Linked DNA regions of Homo sapiens: all the other regions are linked to region 2. The links are contacts of gene promoters, found by promoter capture Hi-C in blood cells and fetal thymus (Javierre and others, 2016). All regions are on one chromosome and are shown on one strand. Each heading gives the region's core, a stretch centred on a gene start or on the middle of the fragment in contact. The rest is flanking DNA. Distances are from core to core; before and after follow the strand shown. Region 1 overlaps DZIP3 (DAZ interacting zinc finger protein 3). Region 2 holds the start of BBX (BBX high mobility group box domain containing). Region 3 overlaps CBLB (Cbl proto-oncogene B). Region 4 has its middle 2.2 kb from the start of TRAT1. Region 5 overlaps CIP2A (cellular inhibitor of PP2A). Region 6 has its middle 36 kb from the start of MYH15.

What was found. The method cuts DNA at HindIII sites, captures the fragments that hold promoters and counts their contacts. A CHiCAGO score of 5 or more calls a contact.
Region 1: a fragment that was not itself captured here is called in contact with the fragment with the promoter of BBX in region 2 in 6 of 17 cell types (naive B cells, M2 macrophages, total B cells and 3 more); the score reaches 9.0 in naive B cells.
Region 3: a contact is called between a fragment that was not itself captured here and the fragment with the promoter of BBX in region 2, in 1 of 17 cell types (neutrophils). The highest score is 6.3, in neutrophils.
Region 4: a fragment that was not itself captured here is called in contact with the fragment with the promoter of BBX in region 2 in 5 of 17 cell types (naive CD4 T cells, non-activated CD4 T cells, fetal thymus and 2 more); the score reaches 8.0 in naive CD4 T cells.
Region 5: a contact is called between a fragment that was not itself captured here and the fragment with the promoter of BBX in region 2, in 5 of 17 cell types (M2 macrophages, M0 macrophages, total B cells and 2 more). The highest score is 12.3, in M2 macrophages.
Region 6: a contact is called between a fragment that was not itself captured here and the fragment with the promoter of BBX in region 2, in 2 of 17 cell types (total B cells and M2 macrophages). The highest score is 6.8, in total B cells.

What each region holds. Positions count from the first base shown.
Region 1 is chr3:108,599,660-108,603,133 of GRCh38, forward strand. All of the region lies in intron 1 of DZIP3 (DAZ interacting zinc finger protein 3), which reads left to right. Among named protein-coding and RNA genes, the nearest start is that of DZIP3, 12 kb to the left of the region's middle. The HindIII fragment of the contact is 626 bases long and covers 1,471-2,096 here.
Region 2 is chr3:107,521,040-107,524,256 of GRCh38, forward strand. It overlaps BBX (BBX high mobility group box domain containing), which reads left to right and starts at 1,923. Exons shown (of 18, transcript NM_001142568.3): 1 at 1,923-2,068. RefSeq lists an enhancer at 1,540-1,589 and silencers at 1,990-2,299, 2,330-2,419, 2,530-2,599. The HindIII fragment of the contact is 5,936 bases long and covers 850-3,217 here.
Region 3 is chr3:105,859,241-105,862,414 of GRCh38, forward strand. All of the region lies in intron 2 of CBLB (Cbl proto-oncogene B), which reads right to left. Among named protein-coding and RNA genes, the nearest start is that of CBLB, 8.2 kb to the right of the region's middle. The HindIII fragment of the contact is 4,116 bases long and covers 1-3,174 here.
Region 4 is chr3:108,818,913-108,822,356 of GRCh38, forward strand. No RefSeq gene overlaps it. Among named protein-coding and RNA genes, the nearest start is that of TRAT1, 2.2 kb to the right of the region's middle. The HindIII fragment of the contact is 1,565 bases long and covers 1,204-2,768 here.
Region 5 is chr3:108,565,268-108,568,520 of GRCh38, forward strand. It overlaps CIP2A (cellular inhibitor of PP2A), which reads right to left. Exons shown (of 21, transcript NM_020890.3): 10 at 2,888-3,047; 11 at 1,230-1,371; 12 at 88-187. Among named protein-coding and RNA genes, the nearest start is that of CIP2A, 23 kb to the right of the region's middle. The HindIII fragment of the contact is 2,532 bases long and covers 105-2,636 here.
Region 6 is chr3:108,545,017-108,548,225 of GRCh38, forward strand. It overlaps a transcript of MYH15 not described here. Among named protein-coding and RNA genes, the nearest start is that of MYH15, 36 kb to the left of the region's middle. The HindIII fragment of the contact is 683 bases long and covers 982-1,664 here.

The DNA.
Region 1 (3,474 bases), core at 534-3,033, 1.1 Mb after region 2:
CTAACCCCCAATGTGATAGTATTAGGAGGTTGGGCCTTTGGGAGATAAATTAGGTCATGAAGGTGGAGCCTTCATGAGCAGGATTGTAAAAGGCCAGAGAGCTCTCTCACCCTCTTTCTACCATGTGAGGATACAACCAGAAGTTAGAAGTCTGCAGCCCAGAAGAGCACCCTTATCAGAACCAACTTTGCTGACACATTGATCTCAGACTTCTAGCCTCCGGAACTGTGAGAAATAAATTTCTGTTGTTTCTATAGTACTTTACTATAGCAGCCCCAATGACTAAGACAGTCATTTCAAAAGCCACAAAGAATGGCTAGTTATTGCTGCTAATCTAGCAGATGTACTCAGATCAACAATAGTTAAAATTCTGATTCCAAGGAACTCCTATCACAAAATGTCCTGCCATGTTCTTTGAAAGTGTTTTCTTCAGTGTTTTTAAGGGTTGAAGTGACCATAGCATCTTGATGTGTCAACTTTGAGGAGTTTTTTGGAATTCTTTTGGTAAAATTTAGCAGAAATGATAACTAGCAGTGTCAGAGTCTGCTTGTTAACAGACCCATGATCTTCTGGAGTACATTTAATTCAATGTTGAGTTAGGAAATCCAGCTTTTCAAAATAGCTATCAAAATTTTAACCAAGTTGCATGTTCAAGGTGGTGGTATTACAGCATTGTTTGTAATAGCATTTTTTTTTTTTAAAGTCAAACCTAGAGACAGCTGAAGTTTTTAATCAAAGGTCTGGTAAAATGATACATGCATACATTGGTATATCATGCAGTTTAAAGACTAAAGTAGATGTATATGTGCTGGTATGAAAAATGCAAGGTGCTGAACAGTGTGCACACATTATGTTGTCTTTTGTGTCATGTGATGTATTTGAAAAATAATTTTTTATCCCACTTCTTAAATCTCATTAACATTCCTTTCCAAACAATAGCATTTCTCCTTCACAGTAGGGAATTAGAAGAAAAGTTAATTAATTTTGCTGCAAACCTAAACAGTTAAATGATGATGATTATGATTATGAAAATGGTGATGATAGGAACACTTATATAGTGCTTACTACGTGCCAGGTACTATTCTGTCTTTTAAGCATTTAATCTTTACAACCCTATGAAGGAGGTACTGTTGTACCTCCTATGGATCCCTATGTTTTAGATAAGGAATACCCTTACAGTAGTTTAAGAGCACTGTAATCACTCTGTAAGGGTATGCTTTGACACACACTCTGCTTTGACACTCACTAGCTAGCTGTGTGATTTTATGTGAAATTAATAAACTTTCTCTGTGCTTCAGCTTCCTTATCTAACGAAGAAACTCAAATAATTTTGACATTAATGGATATCTGCATACTTTATGTCATTTTGCTTTCTTGTAGACGTAAGTTTGTTTGTGTCTGTACATGTTGTATAATATCAGGATGGTCTTATTTTTCTTCCCCAGAACAATCTCTAGGTCCACTTAATTAAGCTTGTTAATCTTAACTCATTCATTTAGCTGAATGTTTCTCAATGGAGAGTAATTTTATGCCCCAAGGGATACTTGGCAATATCTGGAGATATCGTTGATTGCCACAATGGGGCTGAGGTGTGTGGATGTGTGGGTGTGGGTGTGTGTTGGTGGGGAGCTGCCTCTGGCATCTGGTGGATGGAGGCTAGGGATGCTGTGAAACATCTTAAAAATGCATAGGAAAACTTCCCGTAACAGGGTTATCCAGGCTGGAATGTCAGTAGTTCCAAAATTGAGAGAGCCTGATATACTGGGCATAGGAAAAGTTCTTAAAAACTGTATTCCTTTCCTGAAAAAGACAAAATATATTACTTTGTTTTAAGTTAGTAGCGTGGAGAAAAGTATGAGCTTTATTTTTATTGTTTTCCACACCGATACTCACTTTTTCCTCCTGGCATTGTATAATCTGTAAGTGCTAGAGTTGACAAGGGAGGGAAATTCACGGGACATCCACCCACACTTTGAAATGTAAACTTGTTGGCATATTAGAGTCTCTATCTTGGCCAGGTATTTTTGAAATCAACCCAGTAGTGCCATAGATAGTTGTTTTTGGATAAACATAGAGATTGACCCTTCTGGTGTTAAAGCTTGAAACTTGTATTTATTTGAGTTTCTTCCTCAGGAAACGACCTTTAGGCCTCTCAAAAAAAAGTATCCAAGAACTGAAAATTACCAGATCACTTCACCAGATGCCTCTTTGCCCCTCCCTAGTTATTATTTTTTTGCACATTATTACATTTCTTCCCTGCTATATAAACCCCTAGTTTTAGTCAGTCAGGGAGATAGATTTGAGATTGAGCTTCATCTCCCCAGCTGTAGCACCCAATTAAAGCCTTCTTCCTAGGCAAAACTTGTTTCAGTGATTATCTTTCCAGGCGGCCAGCAGTAGGATCTAGACTGAACCCTTGGTATTTTGGTAACATTTTAGTCAAGATGAACATTTGAGTGGATTTTTATAAAAATGTGCCTATATACAGTTTAGGAAGGTGATAGTAACACAAGTTAAATGTTTAAGTGGATTATTAAAAAATTATGCATAAGAGCTGTGCCTGCTTTGACGTGAATAAACACAGCTTTAAAAATGGAAACAAAATACCTTTACAACTAAAAAAAATTGTTAAAATTTCAGTAAGTAAGAGGGAAAGTAGGAACTGAGAGTTCAGGTAGAAGGAACAGTAAGGAAGGCATGTCACTGTTTATTAAGATATGGATGGTATTACCTTATTTTTCAACCAGTAAAACACAGCCTACAGATAAGATCATCTTGGTTAGTGGATAAAGGTGTGCTGTAAATTGACATTGAACTTTAGCTTGCCCTCAGATCAACCAACAAGGACCTAAATAGATTTCTGGAGAAGAGCAGTCTCTTAATCCCAGGAAGTCAGAGTAAATTTAGTTTACTGCCGACAGGGAAAGTCTATTGAAATGAATACGCTAGGGGAAACTAGATTTACCTTTCTTTTTTTTCCTTCATGTTAACGCTTTCTTAAAAGGTTTCCTCTTCTAGAATGGTAAAAACCTTTGGGTTATTTTAGCAGCTCAGTGGTGACATTTCAGGCTGACTGCTTCCTTTTGGTTGCTAGGCACTTCGCCTTTCTCGCAACAGAGGCTGTAAAGTGCTACTGCTGTTGCTATTGCTGGTAGTGTTTGCCACACATACCTGTTTAGCTCCTGGGAAATGATGAGATTGATGATTCTTTCTCCTGGAAAACCTTTCATCACAGAGATTCATCTCAGGTTGTATTTTGAGCAAGCTGAAAAAGCCCTAGCCTTTCTTAACTCTGTTAATTCGGGATCCAAGTATCTTTTTGATTTGTTGATTAATTTTCCACCCATTTCTTTTTCAAGCTGAACACTGAACAGCTTAGCAGAGGCCTTCTGTCCTCTCTTATCTCATCACCAGAGGATTTTCCTCCCTTCTTTTCATCCTTGCTGTGATCTATGCAAACAGCTACTGGCCAAA
Region 2 (3,217 bases), core at 673-3,172:
ATCCACCCGCCTCCATCTCACAAAGTGCTGGGATTACAGATGTGAGCCACCGCGCCCACCCCTAATACAAACTTTGATATTATCTGTTTAAAATGCTGTGATTGGCTGGGCGCTGTGGCTCATGCCTGTAATCTCAACACTTTGGGAGGCCGAGGCAGGTGGACCACCTGAGGTCAGGAGTTCGAGACCAGCCTGACTAACATGGTGAAACTCTGTCTCTACAAAAATACAAAAATTAGCCAGGCATGATGGCAGGTGCCTGTAGTCCCAGCTTACTCGGGAGGCTGAGGTGGGAGAATCTCTTGAACCCGGGAGGCGGAGGTTGCAGTGAGCTGAGATCACGCCATTGAACTCCAGCCTGGGCTACAGGGTTAGACTCCATCTCAAAAATAAAATAAAATAAAATGCTGTGATTTTTTATATACTTTTCCTTTTAAAAATGATTTTTCTAAAAAAATAAACATCACATTTCTAAATACCACTTTGTTTTCTGAACTTTTTAAACTTTTCTGATTTTGTTTCTCTTTCTCCCTCTTACACAGGAGTGCTCACATGCACACATACACTCTTTTAACAACTTTATGGATGCGAGAGAAAAACCTTAAGACAGCATCAAGGAAATAAAAGGGGAACTGAAATAAGTTGCCCTAGTTGGGTTTTCTTTAAGTTTTAAAGCTACTTACCTAGGCCATAAAATCGTAGTGTTTATGTAATCTCCAAAATGTTTGTATTTGAGAATAATTCACCAACTCTTAAAACGGAAGGAACCCTAAGAAAACATCTAGGCCTAAGATAATGCCTGACACATAGTAGATGCTGAATAAACATTTAATTGAGGGAATCTGGAAAAGCTTCTTATTTTAATCTTAAAAATCAAAACCAAGTCTGAGCATTGGAGAGGTTAAGTAACTTGCTCAAGATTGCTCAGCTGGTTAAAGAGTTTAATCTACAATTTATTCCTTCTAATTTCCAGCTTTGACTTCTTTCCACCAACCTGTTGACTTATGTGTATTGAACTGTCTCATATAATCTTCTGAAGTTGCATTGTTGAAAAACAATCAGAAAGACCAGTCCTGAGGTTCATCATCTCCAAAAGTCATGCAACATATGATGTTCACATGAGATGTGAAATATGTAAAGAGTCATATATTTTTATATATAATATGCAAAATATAAATCATGTATATATTGAATCAAAGGTCTGTTTTGAAGGCTAAGGGTCAATAGCCAATCTTCCATGACTTATTTTACCTAACAGCACAGTTTGCATGTCCACACAGGTGATGGCAGTCCACTGACCAGTTAAAAGTTGTTTGGCTATTTCAGCAAAATGTTTATCTTTGTGTGTTGTTATATTGATTTTTTTGAATCTACCTACGAATGAGGCACTAACAACCTCAATGCATTAGAGTCCTGATAAACTTATCTTGCACTATTTTGGCCTATGTGATAGCTAACCCATTGACAAAAGAAATCCAAGGTGATAAAAGCCTTTCTTGGCCACTTGTTAGCCGGGTCAGGCTGTAAAATCGTAACACAATGCAGGCCTCTTCCATGGGGCACCAAAAGGCAGCGATGAAAAACCCCCCTCACTTCCATATCCAGTGGAGTTGTAGTTTATTACCATAACCCTCCCAAGTCAAAAGGACACCAGTTTCAAGCCTTGCAACTTGGTGCAGACAGGGGTTTTCCCCTTTACCCCACTCTGCTGGGCCTCTTTACCTGTCCTCTCCTACTGTCTACAGGTCCCGAACATTAGAAAATAGAAAATGTGATGATCTTTGTGTGTCTCTGTAAAATGTGTGTATGTGTGCGTGTGTTTGGGTGTAACGGGCCTCTTGTTTGGCTGCGCGGCCTGTCCGTCACTGCGCGGGCCAATGGCAGGCTGCCTTATATAAAATGAGTGTTTTCAGTCTCTCCGGGTTGCATGTACTGTATGTGGAGCAGTGTACAGTGAAGCGGAGGCAGAGCGGCTCCGCGAGCTTCTCTCCACTTTCCCATAGAGAAACCCTGACTGGCCGCTGAGGGCTAGCTACACACACGCCCTCACGCCCGGCGAGCCCGCGAGGTAGGCGCCCCCCATCCCCAGCCCTCCCTGGGCGCACTCCCCTCACTTTCTGTTTTCCTACTCACTTGCGAGCCGCCGGGCTGCAGCCCCAAGGACTCCGCGGCAGGAGCAGCGGCGGCGGCGGCGGCGGCGGCGGCGGCAGCCGGTAGGGTGGACTTGAGGAAGACGGAGGGAACCCCGCGCGTCCGGAGCCGCCGCCAGCCGGCCCGCTCCCTGGGCACTTTCCCCCTCCGCCAAAACTTTGGGTCGGGAGAGGTCGGGGGCGAGGGTCGCGGCGGCCGCGCCGGCTGGGGCCGGGGGGCGGGGGGCGCTGAGGCAGTGCCCTGCGAGCGGGAGGCTGGGGGCCGGGCTGGGGAGTAGTAGGCCAGCCGGTGCCAGGCTGCGTTTGCAACCAGCACCTCTCGGCACACAGGCAGCGCCGCCTGAGAGGGGCACGGGCGCCGGGGCGCGGGCTGGAGCGGCCCCAGGAAAACAACAACAGAGCCCTCACGCCGGCGGGCGGCTCGTGGCCGCCCGGGGAGCCCCAAACTTCATCTCGGCGAAAGTACGTGGAGCCCTGCCTGGTCTCGGCTGCCGGGGAGGTGGGGCCTGGGGAGCAGGGGCAGTGGAGGAAGGTACGAGGAGCCAGCCTTCGGTGGATTTATTGAACGTTTCGTCTGCGTTGGTGACCGGGAACAGCAGCCCAGTTGCTCGTTCATCTGGAGAGTTGGGATTTGGGTGTTCCGGCCCCGCAGATCAGTGCCCTCTCACCCCCCACCCCTACCCAAATGCGCGGCGAGTAGAGAAAGTGCTGTTTTAGTGCCAGAGTAGCCTGGAGGAAGAATAGGGGGAGAGGGGGAAGAGGGCGAGGGAGAAGGGGAGAGAGAAGAGGGAGGGAAGGGGGGGGAGAGAGGGAGACAGAGAGAGAGGGAGAGAGAGAACGGGAGGGAAGAGAGGAGGGGGAAGAGGAGGAGGGAGGCTGTGTCAGGATTTTGCTTGAATGTGGGATTATGTTGTGTCAATAAGTTTAAGGTGGAGAGAGCGAGGCTGAGGGTGGTGGTGGAGGGGAGGAGGAAGGCCTTGGCCGTTTAAAGTCTTATTTCTGAAGGTAAGTTACGGCTTTGCCTGGTCGCGATGACAGAAAACTTGCAGATCCTTTATCCGGGGATG
Region 3 (3,174 bases), core at 70-2,569, 1.7 Mb before region 2:
ATTGTGCCTATACTATAAGACTTTCATTATAAAACACGCCTCACTTCATGGAGCATTCAGTTACACTGAATCAAGTCATATACTCTCAAGTGAACTGCCTCATTCTTAAAAACAATATAGAAAGCCCTGGGCTAGGCGCGGTGGCTCACGCCTGTAATCCCAGCACTTTGGGAGGCCGAGGCGAGCGGATCACGAGGTCAGGAGATCGAGAACATCTTGGCTAACACGGTGAAACCCTGTTTCTACTAAAAATACAAAAACAAAATTAGCAGGGTGTGGTGGCAGGCGCCTGTAGTCCCAGGAACTTGGGAGGCTGAGGCAGGAGAATGGCGTGAACCCAGGAGACGGAGCTTGCAGTGAGCCGAGATCGTGCCACTGCACTCCAGCACTCCAACCTGGGCCACAGAGTGAGACTCCGTGTCAAAAAAAAAAAAAAAAAAAAGAAAGCCCTGTCCTCCTCCTATAAATGTTAGAAGAGGTTTCTTATTACAGTGACCTAAAGTATATATATATCTCTCTCTTTATAATAACAGGTACCGAAGAGTTCTTTGGGTTCTTTCCATTTTAATGCAGCAAATAATTACTAAATATAAAAATTATAAAAATGTATTTTACTAAGTATAAAAATGTACAGTGTAAAAAAGTATAAAAATACACTTTTTTAATAGATTATTAATTGGGCAAAACAAAGTTGGCATATAAAATTGATCATGAGTCCAGCACAGCTGAATTTACAGAAAATTACCAAGACCTTTATGGTTTTCCACGAAGATGTCTTCAGAAGATTGACATTAAGAAGCACCATTAAAGAACTGACTAGTTGTAATTAAAATATCAATTGTGTATTCTGTTCACTCTCTTTCTTCCAAATGAGAATGGAACTTCCTTGAAAGTGAAGAACAGTCTTTCTCATTGGTCTCTCTCTATCACCTAATATGGAACTTTGCATATAGTAGATGTGCAACAAATATTTGATGGCAGAAAGGAGGAAGAGGAGGAGGAAGCAAACAAGGTAAGGACGAACCTCTCAGGAAAATTATATTACAAATAGCATATCCACAACTACATTGAATAAAGCTGCCTAAAAATGAGTACAAAGTTTGGAGAAGAATTTGATAATATCAAATATGGAAGTGGAGGAGGGGAAATGCCCTTTTGATTTACTTCCTTTGGAAAAAGGAAGCATCATATTATTCCATGGAGCAGTGTGCTTCACTCTTCATACTGTGAACACAGACATTAGAATCAAGCAAACCTAGGATCTGGCCCTAACATTTACTAGCTTTACAACCTTGGGCAGGGTTCTTCTTCGGGAAACCTCTTAGGATATTATAATTCTTACAAGAGGAAATGTAAAGTGCTATGCACTGTGTCCAGAACATAGTTAGCCCTATCTCCTTCTTAATATTTCTTCTCCCTTCCATATTTTACATTCCATCACAAGGCAAAATCCCTGCAGATTTTGCAAAGGTATGAAAATTAGACCAAGGGCACTGAACAGTTTGTTGAGGATCATGATTTTTAGAAGCTCTTTTAGCTCATAAAGTTACTCATGCTGCCTAAAACCCTTAAAAAGCCTGGAATGTTCTGTGCAGAAAAGCAGGAAATAAGGCTAAGCCCAGGTCAGTGTTCCTGTCAGCTGACATGGAATCCTCTGGTTTCTTCAAACCCAAGAGGCTCTCAGGAAAAGACGTAGGGCTTTAATATTTTTTTAAATCTTTTAACAGGTAGAATATTATAACTATTAATACTTTTTTCATTGATACTGTAAGATAATATAAGCTCAACAATCATCTAAATGTAACTATGTTAAAAACCTATAAAATGTGTTGGATATTTTCAAAATGTGTCTTTCATTACTTGAAAAAAATTAGCAACCTACAAATACTTAAAAACAAAAAAAACCTTTAGTAAAATTGTAATAATATTATTAATATATGCCCAAGCAGAGTAGATAAAAATAGCACTGTGGCATCCTCTAAGTCACAGCAAGTGTATAATAAGATAAACTTAATATTAAAGATGAGAATTGATTTCCATTTTAATTTTTTACTTATTTACCCACTTAAATGCTAGAAGACTAGTTAAAATACATATATTGCATATTTCATGATATAAAAATTAAAAACATGGTTTAAACATTATAAATATTATGCCTTAAATCACTTCCTGACAACCCAATATAAAATTTACAAATTCCCTCAAAACTTCTCTGTATATTCCCTTGCTTTCCTCCTGTGTAAGTGGAAGTTACATTTATTCGCCAAGATTAACCCTTCTACTTGTTCCTACTCTTTCCCTCCCACAGTTTAATCTAGAATGCTACTGCTTCAACTATTTCTTTTTCCCTTGCATCTTAGGCCATTCCCTAACTACATCCTTTCCCATCAATCTTTTTTTTTTCCCACCAATCTTTGAACCTCTCCTATGGTGTGTGCACACATACACACACACACACACACACACATACATACACACACACACACACAGAGTTATTTCAATGATGTTCAAATCCTCAAGCTAACAGAACTCCCTTCCTTTTCATTGTTGTTACAGTTCTAGAACAATTTTTAAATAATCCACATACTCATTTTAATCTCACCCCATCACATAAGTTAAACTGCTCCACAAAGGTCAATAATGGCCTCTAATCATACAATTCAATGACTTCTTAATTTTTCACCCTGTTTGGTTTTCTCTACTTGAATCTGAACTTAGTTTTATCAGAACTTCAGATTTTATCTTCTTCTTAAAGCTGTTTGTACCTAGGATGTCATTATGGTTTAATTCTACCTTTCTCATCACTAATCTATGTAGGATTCTCTTTCCTTCTCTGGTATTTAATTACACCCCTCAATCTCCCCAGAATTCAATTATCTGACTTTTTCTCTGCATTGCTCCCTCTATTCTTCCTCCGAAATCTCTGACAGTTATATAGCTTGAAATGCTATCTCTATGAGAATATCTACCAAATATGTGTCTCTTGTTTCTACTTCTCTCTTGAACTGTACACTTAATTTTCTGATTTTAAATGAAATTCACTCTGGTACACTGAACTTAGCATGGCCAAAAACTAACCCGCACACTTCCTCTTTTCCTTCTTACGTTCCTTACCTCATTAAGTGCATCACTGCCTTCGGAGTCAACTAGGCTGAAAACCTCAAGAGTCACTTT
Region 4 (3,444 bases), core at 736-3,235, 1.3 Mb after region 2:
TCTGAGGATGCTAATTGTGTCCTAGGGCATTTGAGTTGTAAGGACTCATTCTTTTTTAATCTTAAGAAAACTATCTCCAACGATAAAAATTGACATTCAGTTGTTACAGTTGATATTATCATGGTGTCCTCAAGTAAGCCAGTCCCTAAATGTCAGAGGAGGCCAGAAGGTAAGAGCCAGTTCAACAGGAAGAAAAAGTTGCCTGATCCCATGTTTTCTAAAACATATGCTTTATAACAGTAATCTTGTAAAATGCTTTAAAAATAAAGGATATTTTTAGTGTTTAATTTTTAAGACTTCTTGTTCTGTAAGGCATGATACTTGTAATAAAAAGAGAAAAATCTGATGCTAAGTCTATGCATTGTTCTATTGCTTTTAATTTGCTTTTACCTTTTTTGTCTGAATAGTCATGCTTTCTGGAGGACCTTATAGTCTAAACTCAATGAAAATATAAATACTAATATAGCCTAATCAGAATCAATTGCAACCTCATAATCAATTTTGAATAATTTCACTGTTGAAAATAGCATAATTGATAGCCCAGGTGGCCCCTCCACTCCTTTCTCTCATCAAGCTGTTTGCTTACTTTGTACTAGCTTCAGTATGACTAAACAGCAATTCACCAGAATAAATAAAAATTACAGAGAAGTAAGTAGTGTTTCAATAAAACAAATATTATAAAGAGCCTTTAAAATAAGGGCACAGCTTTTATTCCAATTATAACACTAGTGCATGTTATTGTAAGTAATTTAAACAATAGCTAAATACATTTGTAAATACAATATCTATTCAACAGCTTGGAAACCCTCTCTCTCTCTCTCTCTCTCTCTCTCTCTCTCTCTCTCTCTCTATATATATATATATATATATATATGAATATATATGTGTATATATATATCTATATATGTATACATATATACATATATACACACACACGCAGATATAAGAAAATACATTATAGTGATGAAAATTAATTATAAAAATGATAGATGATCATCAAAAAAGAAGTTTGAAAAACTGGGCCTCTTTCTACACTCTGACCCATTTTTCTGAAACTCTGAATGGCAGCTGCCATTTTGACATGTTTTTCATTTTCTTTTGGCAACAAAACATCAATTTTGTTGGCCTTAATATTTTTATTTCTTGGCAGGTGCCCATCAAAACCTCCCCCCAAAATTTCCTACAACATCTCTAACTGCTTTAAGCTTGTCGAGACATTTCTGCTTAGTCTAGCTTTCTTTGAAATTCCATTTTGATAACCCATCTCATTAAAAAGTACTACAGAGGCCTCATGTTTATTTATGATTTAAACATGGCTCATGAAGCCATCATTCAAATCTCTGAATGCACTTTCTAATATATTTTATAACAAATAAATATCCATATGCTTTTTTATATTCTGATAATGTTTCCATGTGCTCAGCCATCTATATTTAATGAAAAGCTATTTTTTTTTTCCTGGCAAATTTCAAACATCTATGGAGCTAACTAATGTGCAGGCACGGACTTCCTGTGTGACCTTGGACAATCTTGTTACATCTCCGTAGATTATTTAAATCTATGGAATGGAACATTGTAATGAAGATCACTTTTCAAAAATATTGTAATAATTAGAAACTGTGAAGTGGTTCAGATTTATTAGCCTAAGTTTTTACCATTTAGAGATGTCAATCATGCATAGGAGGTACATTAACCCTTTTAAGCCATAAGGTAATCACTCAACAGGTACTTCAGGCTCTTTCTGAAGCAGGACATATCCTTCCTAATGTCTCTTCTGCTCTTGCCTTCCCCAGCTTCCTGCAGCTGTATGGGTAAAGTCATACCCTTGAGGCAGGGAAGCCCTTAGACAGCTGCTCTCCCAACAGGTGGGTTTGCTTTGGGTCTCTCTTCCTGTTGGGCTGCTCTGAGAGATACTTCTGAGCAAACCACAGAGTTCCTGCATTTTTGCCTGAGTCATTCTTGCTGAGTTGACCTTCTCTCCATTCACAGCCAATAATAATTAAACACCGTTTTTTCTGGAATTGCACTTTATGGATCAGCTGGGATGAAAGCATCTTCCTTCCTTCTTTCCCCATCCTCTGCGATAATTTTGTTCTAACAAAGGAATGCTAGCACCAAAATTTCCAGTCCTGAAACCCTTTCTCTTTCCAATGTCCTCTGTAAGCTCGAGTTGTGGGCATCTACTTTGCCCATATTCCAAGGTCTTGCTTAGGTAACCTCTGTAGTCCTTTCTTGAGCCTAGGACTTCTACTTTTCTTACCAGTTACCCTCTTTCAGGACCAAAGCTCAACTCCTCAAGGCCATAACTAGGCCCTCTCCTCTCAAACTGATTTATCAGGTGCCCGAATCTTCCTGAATGTCTGGGATTCAACTTTTCAGCAGTCTTCCTCCCTACGTTCCATCTAATTCTAAGATGAAACCTTCTGATTCTTTGTTGTCCTCTGATCCCTACATGAACCTGAGGCTGCTGTTCCCTGAAGTCTTGTTCTGTCAGCATCCAGGCCTGCTTCATAAAACCTGTCACTCTGCTAATGGTTAGCGGCTGAACAAAGAGTCCTCTGGCCAAATAAGTTTAGAAAAACTCTGATAAAAATATTATTTGGGTTTCCTTTTCGCAGGACTTACCTAAGCCTTTAATATGCATCTACGGAGGTAAAAATAAAGCTATATATTTTTTCCAAAGATATTTGTTGAAGAAACATTTGTCTTCTGCGTTTCTTAAAGGCCGAGTGTTCTATGGAACATACTTTAAAAATCCCTTTTAAAGAAGCTTAGACCAGAGAATCTCCAAGGTCTCTTTCAGTTTTACAGCCTCTGAGTCAACGATTCACCAAAAAATATTTTGGGGGGGAGTGATTGAAGTGGAAAAATGTGTTAGTGTTTAGCCAGCTTTGTCCAAAGGATAAGATGCACTGTATTTTGCTTACTAGGGAGTTATTTTCTATAATGGAAGACAAAGAAAGCACAAGACACCCATGGTTTTGTTTGTTCAATCACTGAGAGTAAGTCTCAATTATTGAGACTTACGATGTGCCGGTGTGCTTAATTCTAGTTATGAAATTTTAATAATGAATAATATAGATTCTATTCCTTATATGAGTTTCCAAAAGCATTGTCCAGAACATCTATATTAAAATATCTTATCATATACAATATATGTAATTTAAAATGCACTCAGAAAATCTGCTTGTTAAAATGCAGATTCTAGTGCTTCACCCTAAATAGTCTAATTTAGACGGGCCCAGGATTTTAAACTAGCATCTTATAGCATACTTATGTACACCAACATGTAAGAACTGCTGCTATTAAGATTCTGGGATGGTGGTTGAGAACAGGAGCTTGTTGTCAGGTGGCTCTAGATTGGACAGAGAAACTCATACTGATAAGGTGAGGATTGTCAGGAAATAAGGCAGGCATCTAGCCTCGCATTAAGATGAGGTATAG
Region 5 (3,253 bases), core at 121-2,620, 1.0 Mb after region 2:
CTAAAGATTAAGAATATTAAAACAGAAACTTATATTAGGACCATTTATGTATGAATAAACTTCAATGTTTGAAGAGTTTAAACTCACCTGAAGTATTTTGTAGAAGCTTACTTCCATACCAGGAACCAATGGTTTAAGTTTGTTAATCAAATCAAGAGTTTTCAAAATTACATCAGCAGCAAGTTTGCTTTAAAGATAAATCACATTTAAATTAGATAACTGAAAAATTTCTTAGAGCTTGTTTCTGTCCAAAATTCTAAAGAAAATGAAAAAAACCAACACTTGTGTTTTTTAAATTCAAGATGATAAAGTCCTGTTTCTATTGAGAAGTAAAAATCTCAATCAACATTCTTATAACTCAAGATCCAAAGAGAACAAACTGGCATTAATAGCCTTAGTTTAGACAGTGTTTCTTTTACTACCAACCTGCTTCAACTTTCTGTTTCAAGTAAGTAGTAGTTTCGAAACACAGTTCATTTAATTCTTAGCTTTGTCACTAGAATATCAACAACAGACGGTAACCTTAGGCAATATAGAATATCTAATACGTAATGAATGAATTACACTAGGTCATGTTCTGAGTTTTGTACCTGAAAGTAGTATACAAATATAAAAACAGATAATTCTTACTCTAAAGGTCCACAATTACTGACAATTGTGACATCTGTGGAAACAGAAACAAATCATAGTGTCTACCACTCAGCAGGTCCTCAGTAAAGATTAGATGGACTTAATTCATGAGGAGGGAAGGGGTATAAAGTAATATCTTATTACCATCAGTGAAAATCCACCTTTAACCATAATTCCTGACCTGCCAAGGAAGGAGAGTTGTCTGTTATTAAAAAGCCTTTAGCAGTGACTGATTTCCTTGTAATAAAACTACTCTTCTGTTTTTTCATGCTTTTCATTTAAAAAAGTAAAATTGATTACTGAGGCAATGTCAAAAAGGAGCTCCAGAAATGTTCAGAACCCTTAGATAATTATAGTAAGTTAAAACAAGACAAAACAAACCTAAACAATAAAAAACAACAAATGTTAATACCTTTCTTCAAAAAGCACACAATCTACAAATTGAATGAATTTACAAAAAATTCATTATGAAAATATGTTTGTTAATCTGTTATATCTTAAGTTATAACCAAAGGATGGTCCTCCAAAAGGATGAGAATCACCACATCTTTCGATTTTTTACTGCCTTGCCATTTTGTCATTAGAGTTTATATACTCACCATAATTCAGAATCTGCAACCTTTGTTCCAAATCCCAGGTCAATCTTGCCATATGTAAATTGTTGTTCTATAAGAGTGGTACACTTGACAGTTGTCAAGATTTTTGCAATATGCATTTTTAGTGTATCATCTCCACAGAGAGGTTAAGTTTTGTTAAGATATACAACAAAAAAATTCTCACTTTATGTGTAAAAGATAACATTCAGGATGATTTCATACAAATTATATCATCACTGTCATCCAGTATAATTATTGTTAAATTAGCTCAATGACAAACAAGGAAACTGAAACTCACACAATTTAAATGACTAGCAAGTGGTAAGAGATGGACTGGCACCAAAGGTTTCTGACTCAATGGTTAAAACAGCGAGGATATCTTTCCATTGGATGTCTGTTTTTTGTTAGCAAGAATCTCAATGGTTCAATAAATATTTATTGAATAAGGGTAAGTTGTTTTGTCATATTTGTATATTATAAATTAATGTAAATAGCTATTATTTTAAAAGTTGTGGTCCAATTCAATGAGAAGGCCCCACTTTATTAATTATAAATATCTCCAAGGTCAAGCAATCATGTATCCCTACTGCAGTGGTTCTCAACTTTAGCTGCATGTTAGAATCAACCAGGTAGTTTAAACAATCACAAACAAAAAAGCCAACATGCAAACACACACCACCTAATGATTTCAGGGTTTCACATCACTCCAATTAAATTAGAAACTCTTGAAGTAAGGTTCTGGCATCGATTTTCTTTTTTTTTTTACATGTTCTCCAGGTGATTTTAGGTAGGAAATCAGGGTTGAAAGTCACTGCTTTAAAGGAAGAAAATTAAGGAGCAGTACCTTAGAAGAGGATATTAAACAGGGGTGGAGTTTGCTCTAGGACAGAGTAGAACATATTCTTGTTGCTCTGAGATACAAGGAAACCTGACTAGATACATTTAAGAGATCTGGTTGAGATACAGTGGCTCTTTGCTCATAGTAAAAAAGTATTAATGAAATATTTTAAAATTGGGACTTCCAGCAACTCAGAATTAGTTGGTCTATGAAAAAGTAAACACAAGGAAGACCTAGAAAATCAGTATATAGAAGTTAAGCAGTGAAACTAAAAGGTTTCTTTTTAAATGAATGAATTTGTGTTGATATACTTGTCTTTTCTTATAACCATTATTAAAGCAATTATGAAGGCTTTATTTTTAAAACATAAGGTAAAACAACTGAGCTAAAATCATGACAACTCTATCAGCATTTCTTTATCCACGAATACACATCACCAAAAAATGGCACTACTGATCGTCCGTCCAGGGGAAATAATTAGCATCAAGCAGAAAACAGTAACATGGAGTAACAGAATAGTCATTTTAGAATTTACCACCAAATGTCAAATTGTGATACAAGTGTCAAAATCAAGCTTAAACAGCATTTTAAAAAATGTACTTTAACTTAAAAGTTTCACACAGAAAAATAAGGAAAAAAAATCATGGATCTTTTTCACTCATTGAGAATTTTTTCTACAGTTCAAATTTTAGTTCAGTAATTCTAGATAAATATGAGCATAAAGTGACAAATTACAAATAAAGACAAAATGCAGTGAATGCAATACTAGAAAAAAAAGAATGGTTAGTTATACAGTTTTCACGTTAATGACAGTAAAGGATATTTAACAAAACTTCAATGGCCTTGGCAATCCTTTCACATTTTTTTCTTGTTAAAGCCTCATCTAGATTTTGTTCTGTGAACTGAAGTTGATCAAGGATTGTAGGCAGCAGAAGGGTCACAAAACGATCAGCCGAGGAACAGTTAGCAGCATCTATGACATCCTGGAGAATTATCCATCACAAATGATTAAAAGCAAAGATGGAATATACAATACAGAAAAAGTCATCACTGAATTGTAACACTCTCTTTAAATTTTTTATATTTCCTTCAATATGCCATTGACCTAAGTCTCCTGTGAATATTTAAATTTTTATTTAAAATTTATACTTCTAACCAGTTTTGAGGGCTATGGCTTTTTTCTCAAATT
Region 6 (3,209 bases), core at 73-2,572, 1.0 Mb after region 2:
GGAAATTAAAGAAGTAACAATGTACAACCTCACAATGAATTTTGTAGGTACAGTCATTAATTAGAAACTACTATGATACCTAAGGCTAATCTGAAGTATGAAAAATGCTTCTTTCAAAAAGAGATGTTAATTTACCACTGCTTATAATTGATATCTAATATAAATAAGTTAGTCTGAGCAACCCAGACTAGTCTAGTCAATAAAAGTGTTACTCTTGGGGTGTAGACAATAATTTAAAGATTTAACCCCTAATCTCTCCATCCTCTACTACTCTCGAAAATAACAGAGAATCTTTACCGTTCATTTTACTTTCTCAATTGGCCAAAGGTTTGATGAAGAGAAAGAGGAAACCAAGGACAAAGGACATAAAACTTTTTACTTCGTTCCATCTCCAAAAGGGAGATAAACCATTATTGAAAATCTACTAAAAGCCATGAGCTTTATTTGTATTTTTTCTAACAAGTATGTGTTATTCTCATTTTACAGAAGAATAAAACATTAAATAAAAACTTTCCTTAGGTAGAGCCAGAACTCAAATCTAGATGCGGTTACCAAACCAATGTTTTAAAACATGGTTTTAAAAAGTTAAAGTAACATTGTACTTCTAGAAACCAAAAAAGTCAATTATAATTTCATTATGCAGAGGTTACCACTGTTCACTGTTTCTAATATACACATACACACACACACACACACACACAAACAAATCTTAAAGATATTCAGGTATCTGAATCATTGTTTACAAATAGTTTGGTTTACTTTTTTTCACTTAACACACCAAAAATCTCTTCCCAATACCTATTATATATTTCAGTAACTTTTCAAAAAGGATGCATGATATTTTACTCCATGACTGTACCTTATACTGATTAACCAATCTCCTATTACTGTATAAATTGTTTCCAATTTTGTGCCATAATATTACTGTACATAAATCTTAGTGCACAACCTTATTTCTTTCAGATAAATTGCTAGAAGTGAAGCTTCTGTGTGTTCCATAACAACACATACTAATTTAAAAGTCATATCAGTTTGTGTTTGAATCATGGGACTTCTTTTCTGAGAATGCATCTTTTTTCACATCGTTTTTACACACAAAGGGGTTGGGATCACTGTTCTTTCAGAATTCTCTCAGCTCTAAAATGCTGATTAACTGTGGGTATTACACAAATTAGTATGGAGTAGTTGATAGTAGCCTTTACTTTCAGTTAAAATGAAAACCCTGCCTAATTGAAGATGAACAGTGCTGTCTTTTGCTAGGGCTAATCATAAGCCTTTTTATTTGAAGTTTGAGAAAAGCATAACACTACTCTAATACATTATATCTTTTGGCTCTTTGAGATAAGTGAGATGAAATATGATACTTAGAATAACAGTGAAGATAATGTAATGGAGAGGCAAAATCATGTTCATTACTAAATCCCTGCCAAATGCTCAGCTACTTACTGGAAAATTAGTTTTTAATAACATAATGAAAGTGAAAGCCAATCCACTCTGTTGACTTTGAAAATGTCACTCTCTAATGTAGTAGTGGACAGAATGTAAAAAGTCCTTTGCTATGTATCCTGGGATTATCCATCATATTTTGAGATATCGAGAGAATATAGATACTGGGTCCTTAGGAAATAGACAACTAAAATGTTATATTTAGTTGGAAGGAAAGAAGCTTACTCCTTCTTGCATTTATGAAGGGATACTTGTAGCTCAATGTGCAAAAAAAGGTGAGTTTTAAGAGTTATACCTCTTATTCATGGTTATGTGATAATAAAGTTTTTTCTGGGGTAGTTTTGAAATATTTAAATGAACACAAGTATAAACCAAACGGGACTCACAGAGGTCTTCGATGACAGGAAGAAAGTCAGTTCGCTGCAAAATGCTTAACTCAGTGAGACTGTGTAAGGTTTCAAAGTGATTTGCATGTTGAAAATAAACCATGATTTTTTGAGTTCACAATGTTCCCTCTCAATTTATGGAGTACAGAGGTATATAATTTCAAGGACTTATCATGCTCATTATTCACAACATAAAAAATCAATGAAACATCTGCCTTTAAAAAAATAGGCCATATATATATATATATGTCTGAGGTGTAGCGGTGCAATCACAGCTCACTACACTGCAGCCCGAGGGACATGTCACCACACCTAACTAATTTTTTTTTATTTTTTGTGGAGACGTGTGTCACTTTGTTGCCCAGGCTGGTCTGGAACCCCTGCCTCAAATGATCTGCCTGCCTAGGCTTCCAAAATTATGGGACTACAGGCATGAGCAGTGACCAAGTTTTAATTTTTAAAAGTTAATTATCTAGAATGTAAACTTAGTGAAGGCTGGAAATGTACAATTATTTTCTTAATCCAAAATACTTTATTATGGGTAATACTCATTTAATATTTATTGGTAATCACTGAGAGCCAAGGTAAAGTGATGATCCAAATGAATTGAATGTCATGATTTAAATAGGCAATTCTCAAATTAGGGGGTTTGGGTAGAAAAATAATATCAAAAAGTTCTTGTAGTTAAAAAAAAATCAATATGCTTAACATGCCTATTTATTTTCTTAAACTACAGAAAGCAAATCTCACATGCTTTGCTTGTAAGAATATGCAAAAAAAGTAAATGCTGTATTAACTGAAAAACTCTAAGTACTATATTTTAATTTCGTGAATGATATGGGTGATGTCATATAGACTGCTATTTTCAGTACATTATAAAATTACCAAAATGTTCAATTTTCTACCTTTAAAAAGTAGGAAAATATCCACTTGGCAACCAACCATCAAATTAATAACTGATTCAAGTAAGAATTATCAACAATACTAAAAGTAGCAGATGCAAGTTGGAAGAGAAACAGCCTATATGCAGTATCTGCCCACAAATTACTTATTATTTCCAAAAGGAAAAACAGGAGTGTTACACTGAAGAAACTACTTTGTATTGGTGCATGCAAAGAGGTGAACATACTGATGTTGACAGCCAGAGTCTTTCCATGTAATTGCTTAAAGCAAAAATTATCACATGGTTTTGAAGGTTAGCTACATAAGCAGAGGTAATGCACATGTCAACTATAGCATGAAGGATGAGAAGAGGACAGATGGACCTATATAGTTGCAAGGTTTCTACATTTTAAGTTAAGTGGTACAATATTAACTCTAAGTGGATTGTTAAAGGACTTATTTTGTCAAAATTGATAAAAAAGCAAGACCCAATTC